7 separate regions of the Homo sapiens genome follow, and regions 2, 3, 4, 5, 6 and 7 are each linked to region 1. The links are contacts of gene promoters, found by promoter capture Hi-C in human tissues and cell types (Jung and others, 2019). All regions are on one chromosome and are shown on one strand. The core of a region is centred on a gene start or on the middle of the fragment in contact, and the rest is flanking DNA. Distances in the headings are between cores, read along the strand shown. Region 1 holds the start of KLRG2 (killer cell lectin like receptor G2). Region 2 overlaps PARP12 (poly(ADP-ribose) polymerase family member 12). Region 3 overlaps KDM7A (lysine demethylase 7A). Region 4 overlaps PARP12 (poly(ADP-ribose) polymerase family member 12). Region 5 overlaps KDM7A (lysine demethylase 7A). Region 6 overlaps LOC107986854 (a long non-coding RNA gene). Region 7 overlaps TBXAS1 (thromboxane A synthase 1).

Region 1 (3,242 bases), core at 315-2,814:
GCCCAGCTTAATTTTTGCTTTTTTAGTAGAGACAGGATTTCAGCATGTTGGCCAGGCTGGTCTCGAACTCCTTACCTCAAGTGATCCACCTGCCTCGGCCTCCCAAAGTGCTGGGATTACAGGCTGAGCCACCACGCCTGGCCTCATCCCTTCTTAAAACGAGTTTTCCATTTGCAAACTGCTGGTTTCTTGGGGGCATTGTCCCCATGAGCTTTTCATAAAAATATCAATGATGTCACCATAAATGTGATGATTATTCTTGCTTCAAATTTAGCAGAATCCTTGTTGCTCTGACAGGAGCTCTTTTCAAACTGATGTCTTATCCTTCTTAGTGCCTCAAACTAGATCTTGTCGAGACATGTGATAACAAGTTAGTACAAATTTATTTTGGTGCCAAAAAATTTTCAAATCCATGCATAGTTTTTTTCATAGTATGAATTTTCCATGAACCTTTTGAAGACCGCTTGTATAGAAAAAAACAGTATATATAGGGTTTGGTGCTATCCAAAGTTTCAGGCATTCACTGGGAGGTCTTGGAACTATCCCAGTGGATAAGGGAGGACTACTATGCTAAAAACTATCCCTTGTTTAACTGAAATTCAAATTAAACTGAGTGGCCTGCATTTTATCTGCCAACCCTACCCTGGGGGCACTTAAAAATACCAGAGGCCAGGCGGGGCGCGGTGGCTCACGCCTGTAACCCCAGCACTTTGGGAGGCCGAGGCGGGCAGATCACGAGGTCAGGAGATCGAGACCATCCTGGCCAACATGGTGAAACCCCGTCTCTACTAAAAATACAAAAATTAGCCGGGCGTGGTGGGGTGGGTGCCTGTAGTCCCAGCTACTCACGAGGCTGAGGCAGGAGAATCGCTTGAACCTGGGAGGCGGAGATTGCAGTGAGCCGAGATCGGGCCACTGCACTCCAGCCTGGCGACAGAGCAAGACTCCGTCTCAAAAAAAAAAAAAAAAAGAAGAATTGCTTATCCACGCCCTGTTTCTTTTCTCTTAGCGTTACTCAGTGGGGGAGTCCTCCCAAGTATGATGGAGAGTCCTTTCGAAACCCTGCTGGATTGTCAGGACAACCAACTGGGCTACTTTTCCACAGGTCGCCCCAATTCCTTTGGATTCTGATTTCTCTGAGGTCCCAGGATCCAGACAGGCTTGGCCAATCCTTCCCCGCCCAAACTGTAACTCTCAAAACCAACACCCCGGCATAGGGCTGGAGGGGAAAATGGGTGAGGTCAGAGACAAAGAAGAGGGAAGGGTCAGGCGGGGCTCCGGGTTCCCTGCCACAAGCCTCCGCTGGTGTTCTGCTTTTCTCCCGAGAGCTCCCGCCCACCCTGCAACCCTCGCCTGGCCCCGCTGCCGTTCTCAGCTCCCTCCCAGTGCCTGGTGGAGGCCGGGGCTGTGTCCCGAAGGGGGTCGGGGCAGCAGAACCTCAGCCACAGCCAATCACAGCGGGGTCCTTCGGGGAGGGGCGTGGCCTGACAACTTCGGCGACGCGGCTGGACCAATCCGGACGGAGGAGAGCGAAGCTCCTCTGCACTGGGCCCAGGTGCGCTCCTCAGCGTCTCCGGGTGGCGGGGCGCGCGGGATGGAGGAGTCTTGGGAGGCTGCGCCCGGAGGCCAAGCCGGGGCAGAGCTCCCAATGGAGCCCGTGGGAAGCCTGGTCCCCACGCTGGAGCAGCCGCAGGTGCCCGCGAAGGTGCGACAACCTGAAGGTCCCGAAAGCAGCCCAAGTCCGGCCGGGGCCGTGGAGAAGGCGGCGGGCGCAGGCCTGGAGCCCTCGAGCAAGAAAAAGCCGCCTTCGCCTCGCCCCGGGTCCCCGCGCGTGCCGCCGCTCAGCCTGGGCTACGGGGTCTGCCCCGAGCCGCCGTCACCGGGCCCTGCCTTGGTCAAGCTGCCCCGGAATGGCGAGGCGCCCGGGGCTGAGCCTGCGCCCAGCGCCTGGGCGCCCATGGAGCTGCAGGTAGATGTGCGCGTGAAGCCCGTGGGCGCGGCCGGTGGCAGCAGCACGCCATCGCCCAGGCCCTCCACGCGCTTCCTCAAGGTGCCGGTGCCCGAGTCCCCTGCCTTCTCCCGCCACGCGGACCCGGCGCACCAGCTCCTGCTGCGCGCACCATCCCAGGGCGGCACGTGGGGCCGCCGCTCGCCGCTGGCTGCAGCCCGGACGGAGAGCGGCTGCGACGCAGAGGGCCGGGCCAGCCCCGCGGAAGGAAGCGCCGGCTCCCCGGGCTCCCCCACGTGCTGCCGCTGCAAGGAGCTGGGGCTGGAGAAGGAGGATGCGGCGCTGTTGCCCCGCGCGGGGTTGGACGGCGACGAGAAGCTGCCCCGGGCCGTAACGCTTACGGGTGAGTGCTCACCTGCGCCGGCAGCCGACGCCGCCAGGTCGGGTGGACGTAGCCGAAACCCCCACACCCGCCCAGCCCTGGACCGCTGGGCAGCTGACCGACTAAGGGACCCAGTTGGCCATCCCGATCCCCAACCCGATCTGGCCTCTCGGGCTTACAATCAATAACATTCCTGTCTACGTAACTGTAATTCACATTGTTGCCGTGTCTCACGCCTGTAATCCCAGCACTTTGGGAAGCCGAGGCGGGCGGATCACCTGAGGTCAGGAGTTCGAGACCAGCCTGACCAATATGATGAAACCCCGTCTCTACTAAAAATACAAAAATTAGCCTGGCATGGTGGCATTCACCTGTAATCCCAGCTACTCAGGAGGCTGAGACAGGAGAGTCGCTTGAACCCGAGAAGCGGAGGTTGCAGTGGGCCGAGATCATGCCATTGTACTCCAGCCTGGGCAACAAGAGAGAAACTCCGTCTCAAAAAAAAAAGAGTAAAGCCACTCCCCTTCTCATCCTCCCCTACCCGCACTCCCGAACTTTCAAATTCCCTCTTAGCATGCGCAGCACCTTTGAGAAGTAGCAGTGGAAGGAACTCCAGATGAGGGGAAGTCATTCAGGATCAGGTGGCAGGGGTGGCAGCCCAGATCCCCCCATCCCTGCACTGCCAAGGACTTTCTGGAAGGTCCAGGCTGCTGCTTTCTTTCCACCACACTGAGGAACATTTAGCCCCAAACACTCATCCATTCAGTAGATAGTGAGTGGGACCACAGGGTAGATGTGCCAGTAGTATGTGCGGCTGGTTATTTTGTGGTGTGGGGGAGGGGGAGCTTGACACAGAAGAAAGAGCCCACAAAAGATACAGACTGTCCTGGATAAGGAGACTGGAGGGAGTAG
Region 2 (3,206 bases), core at 164-2,663, 540 kb before region 1:
ATATGATGTGCTGAGACTCAAGACTGGTGATATTGGCTAGCAGAGACCACCTATGGTATATTTGCTTTGTGTAAGAATAAAATGTCTACGTGTTTTTGTTTACATTTTTGTAGCAATACCAAGTTTCCAGGCCCGAAGAGCATCCCAGACTATTGGGACTCCTCTGCCCTGCCAGACCCAGGCTTTCAGGTAGGGGACGCATGCGCCTGGGGCTGGACAGGAAGGTGTTCTGTAGAAGTGGGTGTGTGTGAACAGACTGTGCCATTCCTCAACACTGAAGAAGCTGTAAGGCTGGGGCTAATTGGGGCAGGAGGGCAGTGACAGATGTGGGCTTTATTTTTGTTTTTGTTTTTTGCAGAGGGTTTTGTTTTTTCACCACCCAGGAGTTGGCTGTGGCTCTGAGGGGAGGGGTTGTCTTGTGGAGGGAGGAGGATGAGCGTGAAATTTGCTAGAAAGGGCAGAAATGAGTTTATGGGCTGGGCTTAACCAATAAATACCAATTTTATTAAGCGAGAAAAGGAGAAGCAGCCTGGGGAGGACCTGAGTCCGATGGACATTTGGAATGGGGTTACTGTCAGGAGGGAAGGCATTCACGACTAGCAGACAGGAGAATGGACAGTCAATTTGGCAGCTTGTTGAGGGGCTCTGACCAGTGGGAGCTGTGCTGAGTGCAGGAGAGTACGCAGACTAACATCTGAGGCTGCCCGTCTGCACCTGGGCTGATGTCTGCCAGCTGGCCGGCTGCCGAGCACTGTCTAACTCAGCTTTAAAACGTGACGGTCCCTGTCCTGGGAGGACTTATTGAGCTTGTATAAGGCACATGCAGATGCCAACAGTGCAGGCAAGAAGTGCTAAGGACCTAAAGGGGTTCAACATGTTTGTCTAGACGACTCTGTGGTCCTTGGACCATGTAGTCCAACCTGTGTCTTTGACCTGTGTGGGACAAGAAAAAAAAAAGGCAGGGACATCCAGGGGATACCCTCGATGGTGGCTTAAGCATCACGTGTCTGTCCTTTAGATTGGTTTCACAGTGATGAGGAGCAAAGTGACTACAATTTGCAAACATAGTAAATCCTCAACATCATCAGTAGGTTCTTGGAAACTGACTTAAAGTGGCACAACATACTGTCTAACGAAACCAATTTCCCATATGCTAACTGACATAAACAAGAGGTTTGTTGTTTTACTTAAAATTGCAGTTTCCAAGAACCTATCAATGACATTTCATGAGGACCGATTGTCTCCTGTGCCTGGAGAAACCACAGGAGAATGTGGTCACTGCTCTCTGGGCTTTTGTGCTTCTGCGGTTCTAGTGTTTACAAGAAGCTTTGGGAAGGGACTGATTTATATTCTGCACGTTGATGGTAATGCATTAAAAACATTTGCCCCTTGCAGAAGATCACCCTTAGTTCTTCCTCGGAAGAGTATCAGAAGGTCTGGAACCTCTTTAACCGCACGCTGCCTTTCTACTTTGTTCAGAAGATTGAGCGAGTACAGAACCTGGCCCTCTGGGAAGTCTACCAGTGGTGCGTTGGGGCTCGCTCTTGGTGGGCTGGTGACTCTGTCCCTTCACACCACTGGCTGGTTGCCACATGTGGCCCGGGTTTCCAGGAAAAGCAGAGCGGCAGTTAGGGCTGCCATGTGCTGGGAGCTGTGTGTCTGCTCTCCTTCGTCCGCTCCCCCAGGGCAGTGTGGTAGCACATCCCATTGTAGAGATGAGGGCACCGAGGCTTCCTGGAGCATACCACCTGGTCCCGTTCATGAGTGGTGGCAAAGCTAGCACTCTCACTTGTCCATTCTGCCTTCCTGGAGACCAGTGGGATGGGTCAGTACAGCCCACCACACCATTAGCCCCAGGAACATAAGGCTGTGGCTAGACAGCAGGGGTCTCAGGTTCATACATGAGGACTGGCTTGTCCTTGAGCACCCACTCACCTGTCTATGTGGGGAGGAATCCTACAATAGGTCACCATGGCAGGCTGGGTCTTGCTGACCTGTCCCCAGATGGGGTTGGGGTAGTGTAATGTGTACTCTGTGCACAGTGATGAAGTCTGGGAATGGGAGAGGGGAGAAGGATGGGCACCCACTGACCAGCAGCCTGAAAATTCCTACAGCATCCCAGGGCTCAGCTCCATGCAGGAGCAAGGTGGGGGTGGGGTTGGGGGAAATGGTACCCATTTTCCAAGGGCTGCTCTGCTTTTGGAGTCCAGGGAACCGCTGCTGTCTGGAGCTGTGGAGGGAGGGTTTTCACCCAGCTCCCACGATCCCCCTTCTTTTCCACACCCTGGCTTGTGGCTGGAGCTTACAGGCCTAGTCAGGGTAGCCTGTGACCTGCGTCTCTTGGTCCCAGGACACTTTTGGAATTTTGGAAAAATGTGTTGTTTTGCATCAGGCCGGCTGTATTTGGTGGCCGGCACACTCTGCCCCCAGCACACATTCTTCTGTGATTCTAGGCAAAAAGGACAGATGCAGAAGCAGAACGGAGGGAAGGCCGTGGACGAGCGGCAGCTGTTCCACGGCACCAGCGCCATTTTTGTGGACGCCATCTGCCAGCAGAACTTTGACTGGCGGGTCTGTGGTGTTCATGGCACTTCCTACGGCAAGGGTAAGGCATGACTGGCCTCCACCAGCAAAACCCATGTTGCTTTGCCCCTGCATAGGAACAGACTGCTAGAGGGCATGAGGGGACCAGCCTGAGCTGATGAGCAGGTTCAGACTCCATGTGTGGTGGTACCTGGGCACAGCTACCAGTCACATCCTTGCTCTTGCTCCTCTGGGCATGGTCAGGAGCTTGGCCCCAGGTGTGGGCAGGGTGGCCTGCCTAGGCTGGGGTGTTGCTTCCCTGTGGAGCAGAGGCCCTGGGAGATGGTGACAGAGACGGGAGAGGAGAGGGGATACCTTCCCAGCCCTGATGAAGTCCCTGACTGTGCCTTTACTATTGATTTCCTTAGAATAGAAACCAGAAACCCTCAGAGATACTCATGTAAACATGTATTCTAGCTATCACGTGAGTTATCTGAGTGTTTTCTTGTCTGTTATTTTTAAACTTGCCAAAGAAAATTTTAAAATACTATTTCTTTGGAAATCGAAATTCAAGAAAATTGGAATAATAATAATTAAAAAAAACCTCTTTGGGTAAATTTTACCTGCGTTCATTGGTTTTAACATGCTGCCACTTCTCTCTTTCTCTCTCCCTCTCTCTTTCT
Region 3 (3,266 bases), core at 341-2,840, 640 kb before region 1:
ATAGAGAATATTTGAGATTAGATTCCAAATCTATTTTGACTCAAAATTGTATATTTACTATATTATCTCCTCAGCATGGAATATCTGAGAACTTGTCCCTTTATCGAGCCATTGGTTGACAATTCTCATTGATTATTGTTTCACTGAGGAAATCTAACTAAGTATTGTAACTTCACATTCAGCTAAATTTGAATATTTGACAAGTGAGAGGATGGGGCTAAGGATTAACCTGAACCTATTTGCGTAGATAGCATCTGCAAAACAAATAGCTAGTGTAATACATGTGCAGGAAAAAAATGCTCAAACTGCTTGATAGCTAACTTTTTGGTACTGCAGAGCACTTCAGTTAAATACTATGAGCAGAACCGTGTTGCCTCCTGATGATAAAGAAGTCTATAAGGCAAGACTTTCTTAACCTATATGAAGTTGCATTAAAGTAAGAAAATGGCATTTATTTGTTTTCTATTTCAGATTGGTTAAGTATTGCCATATTTTGAATTCTACCTTATCCCATAGTCCATTGTCAAACTAATTATGCTTCCTAGTGTAGCAGTGCAGTGGTCTGTAAACACCACTTCATGGGTTTATACGAAAACTGTAAATTAATCACAATTTGGAACTCAGGCCTTCGGACACTGGTACTAATGTGAACTGATTTTTGCTTCCCAATCACTAATTTTTTCTTAAAGGAGAATATTAGAAGACAGTATCAGGAGGGCAGAAATTATCCTGGTCAACTTGCATGCTAATTCCCCAATGAGTGATGTGTTTTTTTTTGAAATGATAGCCTTAGAATATTTTAGGTGTTACAAAAGTGAAAGGGAAAAGTCAGTCTCCTCATTTTATGCCTGAGAAAACTGAAATCCAGACAGTGTTGCACAATTTCTACATGCCAATATAATGTATTTTTTTGTCATTATGAGCTGTACACCAAGATATCATTAGTATACAGAAAGCTTTGTAAGCCATATACACTTTTATATTCAGTGTAAATTGTGCAGCTCTGTCTTACTGCTTTCCTTTTCCTCTGAAAAATGTCCCTTTTTTCCTGAAAGGTCCAGTTGAACTTGAGAAATTAAGAGTATAGGGAAAATATTTGTCTAGACTACATAGTTTTATAGTTGGTTTAATTATCATACCAAGTTAAAATATTTTTTGATTAGAGCATCTGCTGATGTAACTCTTAAGTCCAATAATAAGACTGTAATTTTTCTCTGCAGGTGGTGACAAAGTGATAGATGTCATTGATGTGGCGAGGCAGGCAGACAGCAAAATGACACTTCACAATTATGTTAAATACTTCATGAATCCTAACAGACCAAAAGTGTTAAATGTGATCAGCCTTGAATTTTCAGATACAAAGTGAGTAGTTCTGGGTATTTTGGTTTAGCATTCTGAGTGTTAGCTAAATGTAGTGTAATGATGTATTTATTTTAGGAAGAAACATAGTTGTGACTTCTAAAGTTGTCCAGTGGTAGCAATGTTATAAATTTTGCATTGGGACACTCAGAGATACTTAGAAATAAGATGTATTTTAAACTTTTGGCTGGGCACAGTGGCTTATGCCTTAATCCCAGCATTTTGGGAGGCCAAGGCGAGTGGATCGCTTGAGGCCAGGAGTTCAAAACCAGCCTGGCCAACATGGCGTAACCCCCTCTCTACTAAAAATACAAAAATCAGCTGGGCATGGTGGCACATGCCTGTAATCCCAGCTACTCAGAGAGGCTGAGGCACGAGATCTCTCGAACCCGGCAGGATGGAGTTTGCAGTGAGCCAGGATCGCGCCACTGCACTCTAGCCTAGGCGACAGAGCAAGACTCTGTCTCAAAAACAAACAAACATGTGTTTTAAACTTTTAAGTGTTGTTGTTAACCTTAAGTTCCATTTAATTATTTGGTTTGGGAATAGATGAGAAAAACAATTCTTAAGAATTTTTAATTTGCATGATGTGGGTGTGTGTGTATGTTTGTTTTTTGAAAGGATGTCTGAATTGGTGGAGGTCCCTGATATAGCCAAAAAACTTTCCTGGGTGGAAAATTATTGGCCAGATGATTCAGTCTTTCCCAAGCCATTTGTTCAGAAATATTGCTTAATGGGAGTTCAAGACAGCTATACAGATTTCCACATTGACTTCGGTGGAACTTCAGTCTGGTACCATGTCCTCTGGGTAAGATTGGGGTATTTTTTGTTCTCTCACTGACAAAAACATATAGCCCTAGTTTTTCAGTGGTATATTCATTTCTTGTAAATGTTACTTGTAAAGGGGGAAGTTTTTTTTTTTTTTTTTACTTTTTAACCAGGAACTGTCACTTTGCCTTTAAACGTTACGATTTTTTTTTTTAATCTCAAATAATGGAAGAGCCATGACTTTTAAATTTATATTAGATTTACTTTCTGCCCTCATCTTTTAAGTTGGTTTCTTTTAGGCTTTTGTCTCTTCTTGATTTTTTTTCCCCTAGTTAATTATCCTTTAATCCCTGAATTAAATATCTGTGAAGGAGCAAAATTACAGTAATAATTGCTTCTGGCCTTAATGTTGGGCTAGGATAGCTTGTTGGATAAGTCAGGAATGCCTATAAAAATACCAGTTCTTGGCTGGGTGTAGTGGCTTACACCTATAATCCCAGCGCTTTGAGAGGAGGCCAAGCTGGGAAAATTATTTGAGCCCAGGAGTTCAAGACCAGCCTGAGCAACATAGTGAGACCCTGTCTCTAAAAATAAAAATAAAAACATTAGCCAGGCATGGTGGCTCATTCCTGTAGTCACAGCTACTCAAGAGGCTCAGGCAGGAGGATCACTTGAGCCCAGGAAGTTGAGGCTACAGTGTGCTGTGATTGCACCACTGCATTCCAGCCTGGGCAACAGAGCGAGATCCTGTCTCTAAAAATAAAAATAAAAAAAGTAGCCAGGCATGGTGGCTCATGCTTGTAGTCACAGCTACTCAAGAGGCTGAGGCAGGAAGATCACTTGAGCCCAGGAAGTTGAGGCTGCAGTGTGCCGTGATCACTCCACTGCACTCCAGCCTGGGCAACAGAGCAAGAACCTGTCTCTAAAAGTAAAAATTAAAAAATTAGCCAGGTGTGGTGGCTCATGCCTGTAGTCGCAGCTACTCAAGAGGCTGAGGCAGGAGGATCACTTGAGCCCAGGAAGTTGAGGGCGCAGTGTGCTGTGATTGCACCATTGCACTCCAGCCTGGGCAACAGAGCGAGACCCTATCTCAAAAAAACAAAACAAAAGACCAGTTATTTGCAATTTATATTCACCTT
Region 4 (3,269 bases), core at 575-3,074, 560 kb before region 1:
TGCCCAGCTATCTTACTCCTTTATGTTTTTATTTCAGATAAGTGCCATAGAGTTCATTTCCATTTGCCGTATCGATGGCAATTCTTGGATAGAGGCAAATGGGAGGATTTGGACAACATGGAACTTATTGAAGAGGCATATTGCAATCCCAAAATAGAAAGGTAGGAAATATGTCCCTTGTCTCTGCTTTGTGCCTGGGCTTCTGTGTGTGACACACACACACACACACACACACACACACACACTGTGAGCAGCCTAGTCTGGAGGTGCCTGGGCTTCTGTGTGTGACACACACACACACACACACACACACACACACACACTGTGAGCCACCTAGTCTGGAGGTAGAAGGTGGGCTGGAATCGAAAGTCAGCGTTCATACTGGCAGTTTGGTGGCTTTGTTCTCCCACCTCCCTCTCCTTTCAGACAGGAGCAATGGGGAAAGGAGAAGATGGTACCAAGACCAAGTATTAAGTTCTCAATTGTTTGGTGCTGGGATTGATCATGTACATCTATACTCATTATTACAGAAAAGCGAGAGGTGATAATTTCTATTTGTGAAATTTTGGCCTTTGGCCTATACAGCCATACCGCTGAACTGCTGTTTATGGTTTAACCTTTAACTTTTTTTTTCCCCAAGCATGTCCTAGTATTTTCCCTTAGTTAGTTCAGAGTAAATAGGGGATTCCCGGATAGCCTTCTTTTCAGATACTTAACATATTTTTCATTGAACTTGCTGAAATATGTTGCCAAGAAGAGAATTTGAGCCTGCTTTTTGAGTGTGTAAAATAAATTTGCACTTAGAGTACAATTACGTGCAAATTGCTATTGGTAAAGTATGTGAAACCAATTACTCCTGTTAGGAGGATTAAATGGTTCACATACCACCCCAATCTTTCTTTTTGAGGCAAAATTTACACACAGCGAAGAGCCTAGATATTAAGCATACAGTTCAGTGAGTTTTGACAAATACATACACTTGTGTAGCCAGCATTCTGATTGAGATACGGATCATTTTCCTCACCCCATCTCCTTCCAGTCAGTGCCTACTCCCATCGTTCACCACCGTTCTGACCTCTGTCACCATAGATCTCTGTCTTGCCTGTTCTTGAACCTCATATAAATAGAACCGTGTGGTATGTACTGTTGTGTCTGGCCTCTTTCACTCAAATTCTTCACCCTCCAAATGGGCAAACTACAAGGTCAGACACTTCCCGGCAGAGGAAGCACAGGTGGCCAATAACGTGGATCTGGATTTATTTCTGCCACTCATTATAATTGTCACTGTGACCCACTTTTTGTATATTTCTTTTCTCTTTTTGATCTTCTTGTAGATTTTTTTCCTCACTTGGTTTTTTCCCTTTACTAGTTTGGACGTTATATACTGAATTTTTATTTTTTCAGTGGCTGCTCTGGAAATCTAAACAGACTCTTTATCTTAACAGACTTTTAGCTGAGCTTAAGCCAATCAGTGCCTTTTGTCATTCTGTCAAACAATGAAAGAACCTTGGACACTTGAATTCTGACTAGTTTCATTCAAACTTATTTACTAATTATATAAATTTGGCCAGATTACTTAATCTCATTTTACCTCAGCTTTACTATATGTTAGGTAGACAAAATAATAGTTTCTACGTCACAAGGTTATTTTGAGAATTAAATGAGTTAATATGCATAAAACACTCAGATCACTGCCAGGCACATAAGATGTGGGTCGAGCGCAGCAGCTCATACCTGTTATCCCAGTGCTTTGGGAGGCTGAAGTGGGAGGATTGCTAGAGGCTGGGAATACACAACTAGCCTGGGCAACATAAAGAGACCTTGTCTCTACAAAAATTTTTAAAAAAATTAGCTGAGCATGGTGGCGCGTGCCTGTAGTCCCAGCTACTCAGGAAGCTGCAGAGGGAGCACCATTTGAGCCCAGGAGTTTGATGCTGCAGTGAGCTATGATTGTGTCACTACACTCCAGTCTGGGTGACAGAGCTAGATCTTGTCTCTATTAAAAAAAAAAAAAAGAAAAAGATGCACTGTATGTATTGCTGATATAATATTTTTAATCCTAGAGGTTAGAAATTCGTATTGTTTTAGGCAGTCAGTATTTGTTTAAGCTTACACAATTACCATTTTGTTTCTTACTCACCATTCCTTTGCTCACACTTCTCCTTGTTTATCATTTTCTTTCTTTAAGTTCCTCTGTTGGAGGTTGCTTTAATGAGAGTCTGGAGGTAATTGTGTATTTTGTTAGTCTGAAAGGGTTTTTATTCCCTTCTCATTCTTGAAAGATAGTTTTACTGGGTATTTTCCCTCAGTTCTTCAAAGACTATTTCATTGTTGTCTGGATTCCATTGCTTCTACTTAGAAGTTAGCTATCAGCCTAAATCGAGGTGGTATTAGTTCACTTCTTAGGGCTGCTGTAACAAATTACCATGAACTTGATGGCTTCAAACAACAGAAATTTATTTTCTCGGTTCTGGAGGCTAGAAGTCCAAACTGAAGGTGTTAGCAGGGCCTTGCTCTGTCTGAAGGCTTTACAGGAGGATCCTTTCTTGCCTCCTCCAGGATTCTGATGCTTAGAAATCCTTGGCATGCCTTGGCTTGTAGACGCGTCACTCCAATCTCAGCCTCCATTGTCACAGGCATTTCCCCATGTGTCTGTGTTCAAATTTCCCTCGTCTTAAAAGGACATCAGTTTTGGATTAGGGCCCACCCGAATCCAATATGACCTCATCTTAACTTGATTATATCTGCAAAGACCCTATTTCCAAATAAGATCGCATTCATGGGTACCAGGGATTAGACCTTCAGCATATCTTCTTGGGGACACAATTCAATCCAGTATAATAGATAGTCTGTTTTTTTCTCTCTGGCTGTTTTTAATATCTTGTCATTCTTTGGTGCTGTGCAGTTTCACTAAAATCTGTGTGTGGATTTAAAAAAATTTATGCTACTCATATTTTGCTGTGCTTTCTGATTTCCTCAGCCATGATCTCCTTAAGTATTCCTTCTCTGGAATTCTCATTAGATATATGGTGAAGTCTTCTCACTTTATCTTTTATGTCTTCTAACTTCTCTTTTATTCTCTTTCTAAACTCTGCCACATTTCTTCCTCTCAGGCTCTCAGTTCATTAGTTCAGACTCTTCTGAGATGCAGTGTGTCCCATCGAAGTATGATTTTTAAATTTCAGTTAATTTAATTATGTTTAAAAGTTCTAAGGTCGGGAGCAGTGGCTCACGCGTGTAATCCCAGCACTTTGGGAGGCTGAGGAGGG
Region 5 (3,226 bases), core at 249-2,748, 620 kb before region 1:
CAATCTACCCATCTGACAATGGGCTAATATCCAGCATCTACAAAGAACTCAAACAGATTTACGAGAAAAAATCAAACAACCCCATCAACAAGTGGGCGAAGGATAGGAACAGACACTTCTCAAAAGAAGACATTTATGCAACCAACAGACACATGAAAAAATGCTCATCATCACTGGCCATCAGAGAAACGCAAATCAAAACCACAATGAGATACCATCTCACACCAGTTAGAATGGCAGTCATTAAAAAGTCAGGAAACAACAGGTGCTGGAGAGGATGTGGAGAAATAGGAACACTTTTACACTGTTGTTGTGACTGTAAACTAGTTCAACCATTGTGGAAGTCAATGTGGCGATTCCTCAGGGATCTAGAACTAGAAATACCATTTGACCCAGCCATCCCATTACTGGGTATATACCCAAAGGATTATAAGTCATGCTGCTATAAAGACACATGCACACGTATGTTTATTGTGGCACTATTCACAATAGCAAAGACTTGGAACCAACCCAAATGTCCATCAATGATAGACTGGATTAAGAAATTGTGGCACATATACACTGTAGAATACTATGCAGCCAAAAAAAGGATGAGTTCATGTCCTTTGTAGGGACATGGATGAAACTGGAAGCCATCATTCTCAGCAAACTATCACAAGGACAAAAAACCAAACACCGCATGTTCTCACTCATAGATGGGAATTGAACAATGAGAACACATGGACACAGGGTGGGGAACATCACACACTGGGACCTGTCGTGGGTTGGAGGGGGGGGGAGGGATAACATTAGGAGAAATCCTAATGTAAATGACAAGTTAATGGGTGCAGCACACCAACATGGCACATGTATACATATGTAACAAATCTGCACGTTGTGCACATGTACCCTAGAACTTAAAGTATAATAATTAAAATAAAAAAAAAAAGGAAATGCTGACACATGGTATAGCGTGGATGAACCTTGAAGATATTTTGCTAAGTGAAATAAGCCAGTCACCAAAGGACAAATTTTATAAAATTCCACTTATATGAGGTTCCTAGAAGTGTCAAATTCATAGAGAATGCAAGTAGAATGGTAGTTGCTAGGGGTTGGCGGGAAGGGAGAATGGGAAATTATTGTGTAGTGGGTACAGTTTCAGGTTTCAGTTTGTGCAGATGAGAAGCTTCTCGAGATGGATGGCAGTGATGGTTGTGCAACACTGTGACTCTACTTAATGCCACTAAACTGTACACTTAAAAATTGTTAAAATGGCAGATTTTATGTTTATGTTACCACAGTAAAAAAATGTTGCAAGTGGTTGCCTCTGGAGAATGAGAGGGATGGGGAAGAGGAGGCTGCTATTTTTCATGATATGCTTATAGAATATTTAATTTTTAAAACTACATAGATGTATAATTTTAGTTTAAAAAGTAATTCTTAATTTATTCAAATATGTACGTGAAAAGAATGTTCATTGTCGGAAAGAACAGCAGCCTAAATGGCTACCAGTAAGTATTAGGTCAGAAAATTAACAGTGGAATGCAACACAGCCTTTAATAAGATATTGAAAATCAAGGCCCAGTGCAGTGGCTAATTTAACACCGGTAATCCCAGCACTTTGGGAGGCCGAAGCAGGTGGATCCCCTGAGCTCAGGAGTTCAAGACCAGCCTGGGCAACATGGCAAATACTTGTCTCTAAAACATTAGCTGGGTGCAGTGGCGTGCGCCTGTAGTCCCAGCTACTTGGGAGGCTAAGGTAGGAGGATCGCTTGAGCTCAGGAGGTGGAGATTGCGGTGAGGCAAGATTGCACCACTGCACTCCACACACTGCAGCCTGGGTGACAAGAGCGAGACCCTGTGTCAAAAAAAAAAAAAAAATCAAGGAAGTATGTTCACAGTATATTATGTTGGAGAGAGAAGGGATATAAAGTTCTCAGCAAAGCTGTTTGAAGCTTAGGATTTAGTCTTTTTTGTGTTTATATGGTTAAACTGAATGGTTTTTGTTTTCTGAAATATTTTTATGGATGATTATTTAGTCACGTATGTGTGTAACAGCCTTCTTATAAAAATACTCTGATTTTAATTCTTAAAGGAGGAAAACGGCAAACCAGTTAAATCTCAGGGAATTCCTATTGTGTGTCCAGTTTCACGATCCTCAAATGAAGCAACTTCCCCATACCATTCCCGAAGAAAGATGAGGAAACTTCGAGATCATAATGTCCGAACTCCTTCTAACCTAGACATCCTAGAGCTCCACACAAGGGAGGTCCTCAAAAGATTAGAGATGTGTCCATGGGAAGAGGCAAGTATTATGTTTCATGACAACAAAAAGAAACTTGGCTGTTCCTTAAAGTCTTTATAGGGATAATAAGAGAATAGTCTTGACTATTGTTGATATCTAATCTTGGCTGCAGCATTGTAGGGATCAACCAGTAGTTATGCCTGTGACAGGGAGTGGTGCTTAATCTTTCTAAGTTTTAGTGTAGAATTTGAATGAATAGACCTCATTCGATTGCTGATATGTTTATTGAGTCTTTAGCAAGTACCATTTCCTCTTCTAGGCTCTGGAGAAGATTGTGAGCAAAACTTAAGTCCCTGCCCCTCATGAAGCTTCCATCCTAGTTCAAGCTGGAAGGATGGGGAGACAGAGACATATACTAAAATAATACAATTTCAGATGATAAGCGTTATTTAAAAAAAACCCAAAACAATAGAACAACAGAATAAAGGGGGATGGGGTAAAGCTGGCTGCTTTAGCTAAGGTGGTCAGAGAGCCTCTCAGGTTTGAACCGACAGCTGAGTAACAAATAGGAAGAAGTCAAATGGTTACGTGGTGATTGGAGGAATGGCATTACAGGCAGAGGGAAGAGCAAATGCAGAAAGCCTCTACTTGAGCCAGCAGTCAGCCTGGAGGACTGTTAGACTGGGAGACTGTCAGAAGAAACTCTTAAACTTCGTGAAGTGCTGGCCTACTGGACAAAGGGGAGAGTGGGAGGTAGTAATGAGATCAGTGTAGCGCCTTTGCAGAACATGGTAGTGACTTTGTAGTGAGCTCTGCATCATCCATACTTTTACATCCCAAGAAGAGGATAAGCAGCCATTTTAAATGAATAAGATCGAAGAACCAGGTGCTGTGGTGTGGGCCTGTAGTCCCAGCTACTTAGGAGACTAAGTCAGGAGGATCATTTAAGCCCAGGAGTTTAAGGCCAACATAACTAGATCCTGGCTTAAAAAAAAAAAAAAT
Region 6 (3,278 bases), core at 696-3,195, 760 kb before region 1:
TTTTGCTGTTGTTGCCCAGGCTGGAGTGCAATGGTGTGATCTTGGCTCATTGCAACCTCTGCCTCCTGGGTTCAAGCGATTCTCCTGCCTCAGCCTCCCAAGTAGCTGCCATTACAGGCATACACCACAACGCCTGGCTAATTTTGTATTTTAAGTAGAGACGGGGTTTCTCTGTGTTGGTCAGGCTGGTCTTGAACTCCCGACCTCAGGTGATCCACCTGCCTCGGCCTCCCAAAGTGCTGGGATTATAGGCGTGAGCCAGCGTGCCCGGCCTTGCATTTGTCTTTTCATCCTTTTGGTGAAACTTGTTCCTCTATCACCATTAAGTCATGAGGCTTGATCAGATTCATGTTTATCACATATGGCAGGAATAATTCATAGCTGGTAGTATTAAGTATTTCAGATTACATCACATCAGAAAGTGCATAAGTGCATAATAGCTGCACTATTAGCGATGCTTAGTTGTTGTTATTTTTATTTTTGGAGATGGGGTCTTTTTCTATTGCCTAGGCTGGTGTGCAGTGGCATGATCATAGCTCACTGCAGCCTTGAACTCCTGGGCTCAAGCAATCCTCCCACCTCAACCTCCCTAGTAGCTGGGACTGCAGATAAGTGCCACTCATGCCTGGCTAATTTTTTATTTTTTGGTAGAGACAGTCTCACTATGTTGTCAAGGCTGGTCTCGAACTCCTGGCCTTAAGCAGTCCTCCTGTCTCAGTCTCCAGAAGTGGTGGGATCACAGGCATGAGCCACTGTGCCTGGCTGAGTTTGATCACTTTGGTAAGGTGATGACCACCAGCTGTCTCCATTGCAAAGGGCAATTTTCCCTTTGGTAATTTGCAAGTCATCTGCAGGTAATACTTTAGTCCGATGTGAATATCTTGCTCTTCCATAACCTTCTGTCCAGTGGTTTCATCAAAAATCTTTATTTAATTGGGGGTTGCCAAATAGTGATTTCCAATTCTATCATTCCTTTCAGTTTTATTAGCTGGTATTTCCCTTCCTTTATTCCTTGTTTTGAAGATCACTAGAGATTTTTAAAAATTGTGGCTTGATTTTTAAAAATCAGGCCGGGCATGGTGGCTCACGCCTGTAATCCCAGCACTTTGGGAGGCCGAGGCGGTCAGGAGTTTGAGACAAGCCTGGCCAATATGGCGAAACCCCATCTCTACTAAAAATACAAAAATTAGCCAGGCGTGGTGGCGCGTGCCTGCAGTCCCAGCTACTTGGGAGGTTGAGGCAGAAGAATCTCTTGAGTCCGGGAAGTGGAGGTTGCAGCGAGCAGAGATCGTGCCACTGCACTCCAGCTTGGGCGATAGAGCAAGACTCCATCTCAAAAAAAAAAAAATGTGTTATCAACTATAGTGAGTATTTATTTTGATGTTCAGATTGACTAAATTTGGCCAGTAAAATTTCCTTCAAGCTGGTTGCTGTCTTGGAACACTTCTTTGTCTTCTGGCACAATTTGATGTCCTAGGCTCACTTTCCCTGCCCCAGATTGGGGACCCACCATTTTTCCAAGGGGCAGAAAACATGGTCATCCTCTCAATTACCTAGAGTAGTGGTATCACATTCCACCAGCCTGGCCAACATGACAAAATCCCATTGCTACTAAAAAAATACAAAAATTAGCCGGGCATGGTGGCAGCGCCTGTAGTTCCAGCTAATTGGGAGGCTGAGGCATGGAGAATCGTTTGAATCCAGGAGGTGGAGGTTGCGGTGAGCTGAGATGGTGCCACTGCACTCCAGCCTGGGTGACAGAGCAAGACTCTGTCTCAAAAAAAAAAAAAAAAGAAAGAAAACAGAATAATGGTATCACATTCCTTACCCATTTAAAATTAGCTTAACAGTAGCTACTGTTGATCAAGTGCTGTGCACTGGGCCACGTTTCCATGCATCCTCATTTAATTCACATTAATTCTTTACAGTAGGTTATGTTACTTATCCCTATTTTATAGATGAGGAAATCAGGGTGTGGAGAAGTTAAGTAAACTGCCCAGGTCCTCTCAGCTGGCAAGAGGAGGAGCTAGCAATTGGAACTCTAATCATTCTGATAACAAAGCCCAAGCTTGGAACCACCATAATCTATTGACAATTTGGCTACAAAAGAAGAAAACTCCTTAAGCAGCATTGAACTTGATAATACTACATTTTTAAAAACAAAAACCATGCTTTAAGGTAACAGGTATTAAGCAAAATTTAGGGAAAGAAATCCTTGAGTACAATCTGGAAACTTTCTCATTAATTCCCTTTTTTTTTTTTTTTTTTTTGAGATAGAGTCTCACTCTGTTGCCCAGGCTGGAGTGCAGTGGGAAGATCTCAGCTCACTGCAATCTCTGCCTCCTTGGTTCAAGCGATTCTCCTGTCTCAGCCTCCTGAGTAGCATGAGCCACCACGCCCAGCTAATTTTTGTAGTTTTAGTAGAGATGGGGTTTCGCCATGTTAGCCAGGCTGGTCTTGAACTCCTGACCTCAGGTGATCTGCCTGCCTTGGCCTCTCAAAGTGCTAGGATTACAGATGTGAGCCACCGCGTCTGCCTTTTTTTTTTTTTTTTTTTTTTGAGACAGAGTCTTGCTCTGTCCTTTCTCATTAATTCTAAATTGCCAGTAATCATAGTTTAGAATGATCTTGATCGACCCAGAATATGAGGAGAAAGCTTTCTTACAACTCAGCCAGAAGCCTTATCATGAAGTGAATTGGAGCAGGGACTTTGGACCAAGGGAATGTTGAATGCCCTTCCAGCTTCTCACCTACAAGTCTTTTCTGTGCTTCTGGGACAGTCCATTCAGAGCTTAAGCTGTCCAGGGTAATGAAAGTGTTAGTAGGGGAGAAGAGAAAGCTGCTATGATAATGTAACTATGCCAAGTTGTCGTTGTCATAGGGTGCTGGGGAAGGGGATAGGGAGGGGGACACTTGCCAAACTGGGGGCTGTGACTGCTTGGACAGAGGAGCACCTTTTTCTAATCTGCACAGAGGTGCAGATAAGCACTGCAGGCTAGCAGAGGCCCTAGCTGAGTCAAGTTCTTTCAGTTTGAAGTTGACTGTTCTAGGTTCAAGGGTGAATGACTTTCTATTATCTCTTAATGAGAAAAAACTTCCTTCTCCCAACAAGAATTTCCAGTTGTGGTTATTAGCCTAGGTGTAACCGAAATTGAAAAGTAATTATATTTCTCTTAGCAGCTAAGATTGCCCCCAGCAACCTGCCCATTTCCTGCTTTCACTCTTAGGAGGACAGTCTTTTGCCTTGTATTCTTTTTTCCCCTTCTCTACATTGACTT
Region 7 (3,380 bases), core at 20-2,519, 530 kb before region 1:
GCAAACACCAGCACTGAAACCAGGGCAGGCAGCTGGGGTTTGTGATGTCTGTACCCGCAGTTCCAAAGGGGTCAGATGAAGCTGTTCCCTGGCACCCTGCTTGTTCTTCTTTTCTGGAAACAGCCTGGACCTGGAGGCAGACCCCCTGGAAGCTGGAAAATAGGGCCTTCCCTTCCCCGTAAACTGAACCTCATAAGAGATCAACAGAAGCTTCAGAACTGCACCGCACAGCATCCGGGAGTCACCTCAGTGGCGCTCAGACAGGGCTGCTGTGTTTCCCACAAGGGCGATTCTGATTTTCTTTTATGAGTAAGTCCAAGTTGTGTCAGCACTTGGGAAAAGTCAACACGCTTTTTGAGATGAAATAAAATAATAAAATAAAAATGCTCACTCTCCCTACATTCACCCCCAAATCCTTTGAGCAGAAGCAGATTGTCCTCTGGTCTGGGTGAGAATTGTGACACCTTGTCTCTCTCATATCTGGTGATCAATAAGAAAAGCCAGCAGAGCTGATAGGGTGAAAAATGCCCATGGAGCAGGTGTGGAGCAGCTGTGAGGCAGGTGTGGGGTGGGTGTGGTGTGGGTGTGGAGCAGGTGTGGGGCGGGTGTGGTGTGGGTGTGGAGGTGTGGGGCGGGTGTGGAGCGGGTGTGAAGCGGGTGTGGAGCGGGTGTGGGGCAGGTGTGGGGCAGGTGCGGGGCAGGTGTGGGGCAGGTGCGGGGCAGGTGTGGGGCAGGTGTGGGGCAGGTGTGAAGGTGTGGGGCAGGTGTGGGGCGGGCATGGAGGTGTGGAGCAGGTGTGGGGCGGCTGTGGGGCGGGCATGGGACAGGTGTGGAGCAGGTATGGGGCCAGCATGGAGGTGTGGGGCAGGTGTGGAGCGGGTGTGGGGCAGGTGTGGGGCAGGTATGGAGGTGTGGAGCAGGTGTGGGGTGGGAGTGGGGCAGGTGTGGAGCGGGTGTGGGGCAGGTGTGGGGTGGGTGTGGGGCAGGTGTGGAGCGGGTGTGGGGCAGGTGTGGGGTGGGTGTGGGGCAGGTGTGGGGCGGGTGTGGGGCAGGTGTGGGGTGGGTGTGGGGAAGGTGTGGGGCGGGTGTGGGGCATGTGTGGGGAAGGGGCGGCTCAGGAGAGCGAGGCTGGATGGAAGCTGTCCATTCCACTGTCCGACCAGTGCCGGCGCTCCTCCCTGCACACATCATGCTGCAGGCAGCTGAGCGGGCACTACAGTTCCACCTGTGCCACCCACTGCCTCTTGCCTGCTTCTGCAGGGCCAGCCAAGCAGGTGTGTGTCCCCATTTAACCCGTAGGAAGGAGAGGCACGGAGCAGCATGAGGCTCACGATCACGCAGTATGCCAAGGCCAGGGCCAAGATGGTCTTCTGACGTGCCCTCTAGACCTGTTAGATGAATTCTAACTACTTCACCCAGGTTCTCTAGTTTCTGTCTGGTCCTCAGGTGAGATCACCAGCTTCCTGGTCCACCTGCACCAACTTCCTTTTCTGCTCTGCTGTTTATAACGGGTCAGTGGAGAATCGGCCACCGCATTTTCATGTTGAAGAGCCTAACCCCTTTGTTATTCAACATGACAGCTAATAAGGTCTTGTCTGATGGATTCGTGGCTGAGTTTAGGTCCAGGAAGTACTGTGTCCATTGATCAGTTTCTGTGCTGTCCTCTTGCTGGAGAACACACCTGTTTGGCTTGGCTGCTCTCCCTCTTGGCCAGGAGCCCTGGTCACCAAGCCACAGCTGGACCCCAGCTACCAGCCAGCTCTGGGGCCCTGTAAGGCCTTCTTTCCTTTAAATGGCCTTTGTTCTATTTGATCCCTGAATGCTTTATCTTGAACTTCATTTTAACATGTACACCAGCTTCCCACAATCCCCTTGGAAGAAAGCTGGATATCAATTATGAAAAAAATAAGGCTGGGATTGGTGGCTCACGCCTGTAATCCCAGCACTTTGGGAGGCCAAGGCAGGCAGATCACCTGAGGTCAGGAGTTTGAGACCAGCCTGGCCAACGTGGTGAAACCCCGTCTCTACTAAAAATACAAAAAATTAGCCGGGCATAGTGGCGGGCACCTGTAATCCCAGTTACTTGGGAGGCTGAGACAGGAGGATCTCTTGAACCCAAGAGGCAGAAGTTTCAGTGAGCCAAGATCACACCATTGCCCTCCAGCCTGGGCAACAGAGCAAGACTCCATCTCAAAAAAAAAAAAAAAAAAGAATAAAAGAAAGAATTGGATGACAGTTTGCAAGAGGCTCCAAAGGAGATCAGGGAAGGGCTGCACATCAGGTCTTAATGCTGGCATGGGGAGAGGGGGCACAGAGCCCCTGAGTGACTGGCCTGCTTCCACACTGAGACCCAAAACCTTGTGTGCTTGAGGACAATGCAGTTCGAATCACGCCACCGGAATTTTCTGTATTTGCTTCTGGACTTGAACATTTGGACAATGTCTACAATTGCATTCTTTGTAATGCTTTTGTGTTGAAATATCGTTTTGAGATACCCTCAAATCATCCACATATTGTCTTTAAAAATGGTGAAAGGTATTTCCATATGGTTTATGTGATCTGTTAATTCATAAAAGTGTTGAGTGGAATTTATCACATACGGTTAATGCTTTGTGCTGCTTCTGTTTCTAGAGCCTGAAATCTGGCTGTTACTTCACTCTCTGTAGGGGTCTGGGGACATGAATTAAGATGCCCTTCTCTATGGAGTGCCTTGTTTGGGAGAGTTTGAACGAAGCACAATAGTTGGTTTTGCTCTCAAGATACCCACAGGTTGGTGTGACCGGCTGGTTGGTGTGTACATTAGTGAAATGTCATGGAGTGGCAGATATGTGTCCAAGAATATAACATGAAGTGTATAGTTACAGCTCAAAGTGCTGAGGAGGAAGGGCAGGGAGGACCAGGTGAGGCAAGCCCAACACAGACGTCTTGAGGGGCAGTGAGACGTTTTGGAGGGTGAGTCGTGTTGGAGCTCCAGGATGGGACAGCTGGGGGTGTTGGATGGCAGGAAGGAGCTCCCAGGACTCAGACAGTCCCCTACTGTCTGAATGCCAGCTCCAAGATCAGTCAGGGACTTTTATCTGTTTTATATACAGCTGATTTCCCAATGCTTGGCACAGAGTAGATGCTCAATAAACAATTGCTGAATGAATGAATGAACGAATGAATGAATGAATGAACGAACAGGCAGGGGAAATGGCAAAAGCCAGCAAAGGCTAGGAGACCAAAGGGCCAGCTTGGGCTGGGGAGGAAGGCGGTGTTAAGAAAATGCCTGTGAAGCTTTGAGAAGGTTGTTAACCTGTAGGAAAGCGGGCCAGATATCTGAGGTGCCATGGGGATACAAAGGAACCCAGGACTCAGGCGTTGCCCTCCAGAAACACAAG

The links. Contacts are between HindIII fragments. The study calls those that stand out against the background at their distance.
Region 2: a contact is called between a fragment that was not itself captured here and the fragment with the promoter of KLRG2 in region 1, in 2 of the 25 tissues and cell types used here (mesenchymal stem cells and thymus).
Region 3: a contact is called between a fragment that was not itself captured here and the fragment with the promoter of KLRG2 in region 1, in 2 of the 25 tissues and cell types used here (IMR-90 fibroblasts and lymphoblastoid cells).
Region 4: a contact is called between a fragment that was not itself captured here and the fragment with the promoter of KLRG2 in region 1, in 2 of the 25 tissues and cell types used here (IMR-90 fibroblasts and lymphoblastoid cells).
Region 5: a fragment that was not itself captured here is called in contact with the fragment with the promoter of KLRG2 in region 1 in 2 of the 25 tissues and cell types used here (dorsolateral prefrontal cortex and lymphoblastoid cells).
Region 6: a fragment that was not itself captured here is called in contact with the fragment with the promoter of KLRG2 in region 1 in 1 of the 25 tissues and cell types used here (IMR-90 fibroblasts).
Region 7: a contact is called between a fragment that was not itself captured here and the fragment with the promoter of KLRG2 in region 1, in 5 of the 25 tissues and cell types used here (aorta, dorsolateral prefrontal cortex, lymphoblastoid cells and 2 more).

The regions. Positions count from the first base shown.
Region 1 is chr7:139,481,995-139,485,236 of GRCh38, reverse strand. KLRG2 (killer cell lectin like receptor G2) reads left to right here and starts at 1,564. Exons shown (of 5, transcript NM_198508.4): 1 at 1,564-2,351. The coding sequence starts at 1,595. RefSeq lists silencers at 1,395-1,454, 1,915-2,194 and an enhancer at 2,325-2,404. The HindIII fragment of the contact is 6,160 bases long and covers 1-3,242 here.
Region 2 is chr7:140,025,596-140,028,801 of GRCh38, reverse strand. PARP12 (poly(ADP-ribose) polymerase family member 12) reads left to right here. Exons shown (of 12, transcript NM_022750.4): 9 at 114-189; 10 at 1,396-1,526; 11 at 2,454-2,605. Among named protein-coding and RNA genes, the nearest start is that of PARP12, 36 kb to the left of the region's middle. The HindIII fragment of the contact is 6,744 bases long and covers 1-3,206 here.
Region 3 is chr7:140,125,538-140,128,803 of GRCh38, reverse strand. KDM7A (lysine demethylase 7A) reads left to right here. Exons shown (of 20, transcript NM_030647.2): 5 at 1,221-1,362; 6 at 1,981-2,167. Among named protein-coding and RNA genes, the nearest start is that of KDM7A, 50 kb to the left of the region's middle. RefSeq lists an enhancer at 2,938-3,266. The HindIII fragment of the contact is 5,645 bases long and covers 1-3,266 here.
Region 4 is chr7:140,043,776-140,047,044 of GRCh38, reverse strand. It overlaps PARP12 (poly(ADP-ribose) polymerase family member 12), which reads left to right. Exons shown (of 12, transcript NM_022750.4): 5 at 38-161. Among named protein-coding and RNA genes, the nearest start is that of PARP12, 18 kb to the left of the region's middle. RefSeq lists a silencer at 650-850. The HindIII fragment of the contact is 4,828 bases long and covers 1-3,269 here.
Region 5 is chr7:140,101,009-140,104,234 of GRCh38, reverse strand. It overlaps KDM7A (lysine demethylase 7A), which reads left to right. Exons shown (of 20, transcript NM_030647.2): 12 at 2,075-2,284. Among named protein-coding and RNA genes, the nearest start is that of PARP12, 40 kb to the right of the region's middle. The HindIII fragment of the contact is 3,256 bases long and covers 1-3,126 here.
Region 6 is chr7:140,242,418-140,245,695 of GRCh38, reverse strand. All of the region lies in intron 1 of LOC107986854 (a long non-coding RNA gene), which reads right to left. Among named protein-coding and RNA genes, the nearest start is that of KDM7A-DT, 67 kb to the right of the region's middle. RefSeq lists a silencer at 1,973-2,267. The HindIII fragment of the contact is 3,739 bases long and covers 76-3,278 here.
Region 7 is chr7:140,007,278-140,010,657 of GRCh38, reverse strand. All of the region lies in intron 10 of TBXAS1 (thromboxane A synthase 1), which reads right to left. Among named protein-coding and RNA genes, the nearest start is that of PARP12, 54 kb to the left of the region's middle. The HindIII fragment of the contact is 5,138 bases long and covers 1-3,380 here.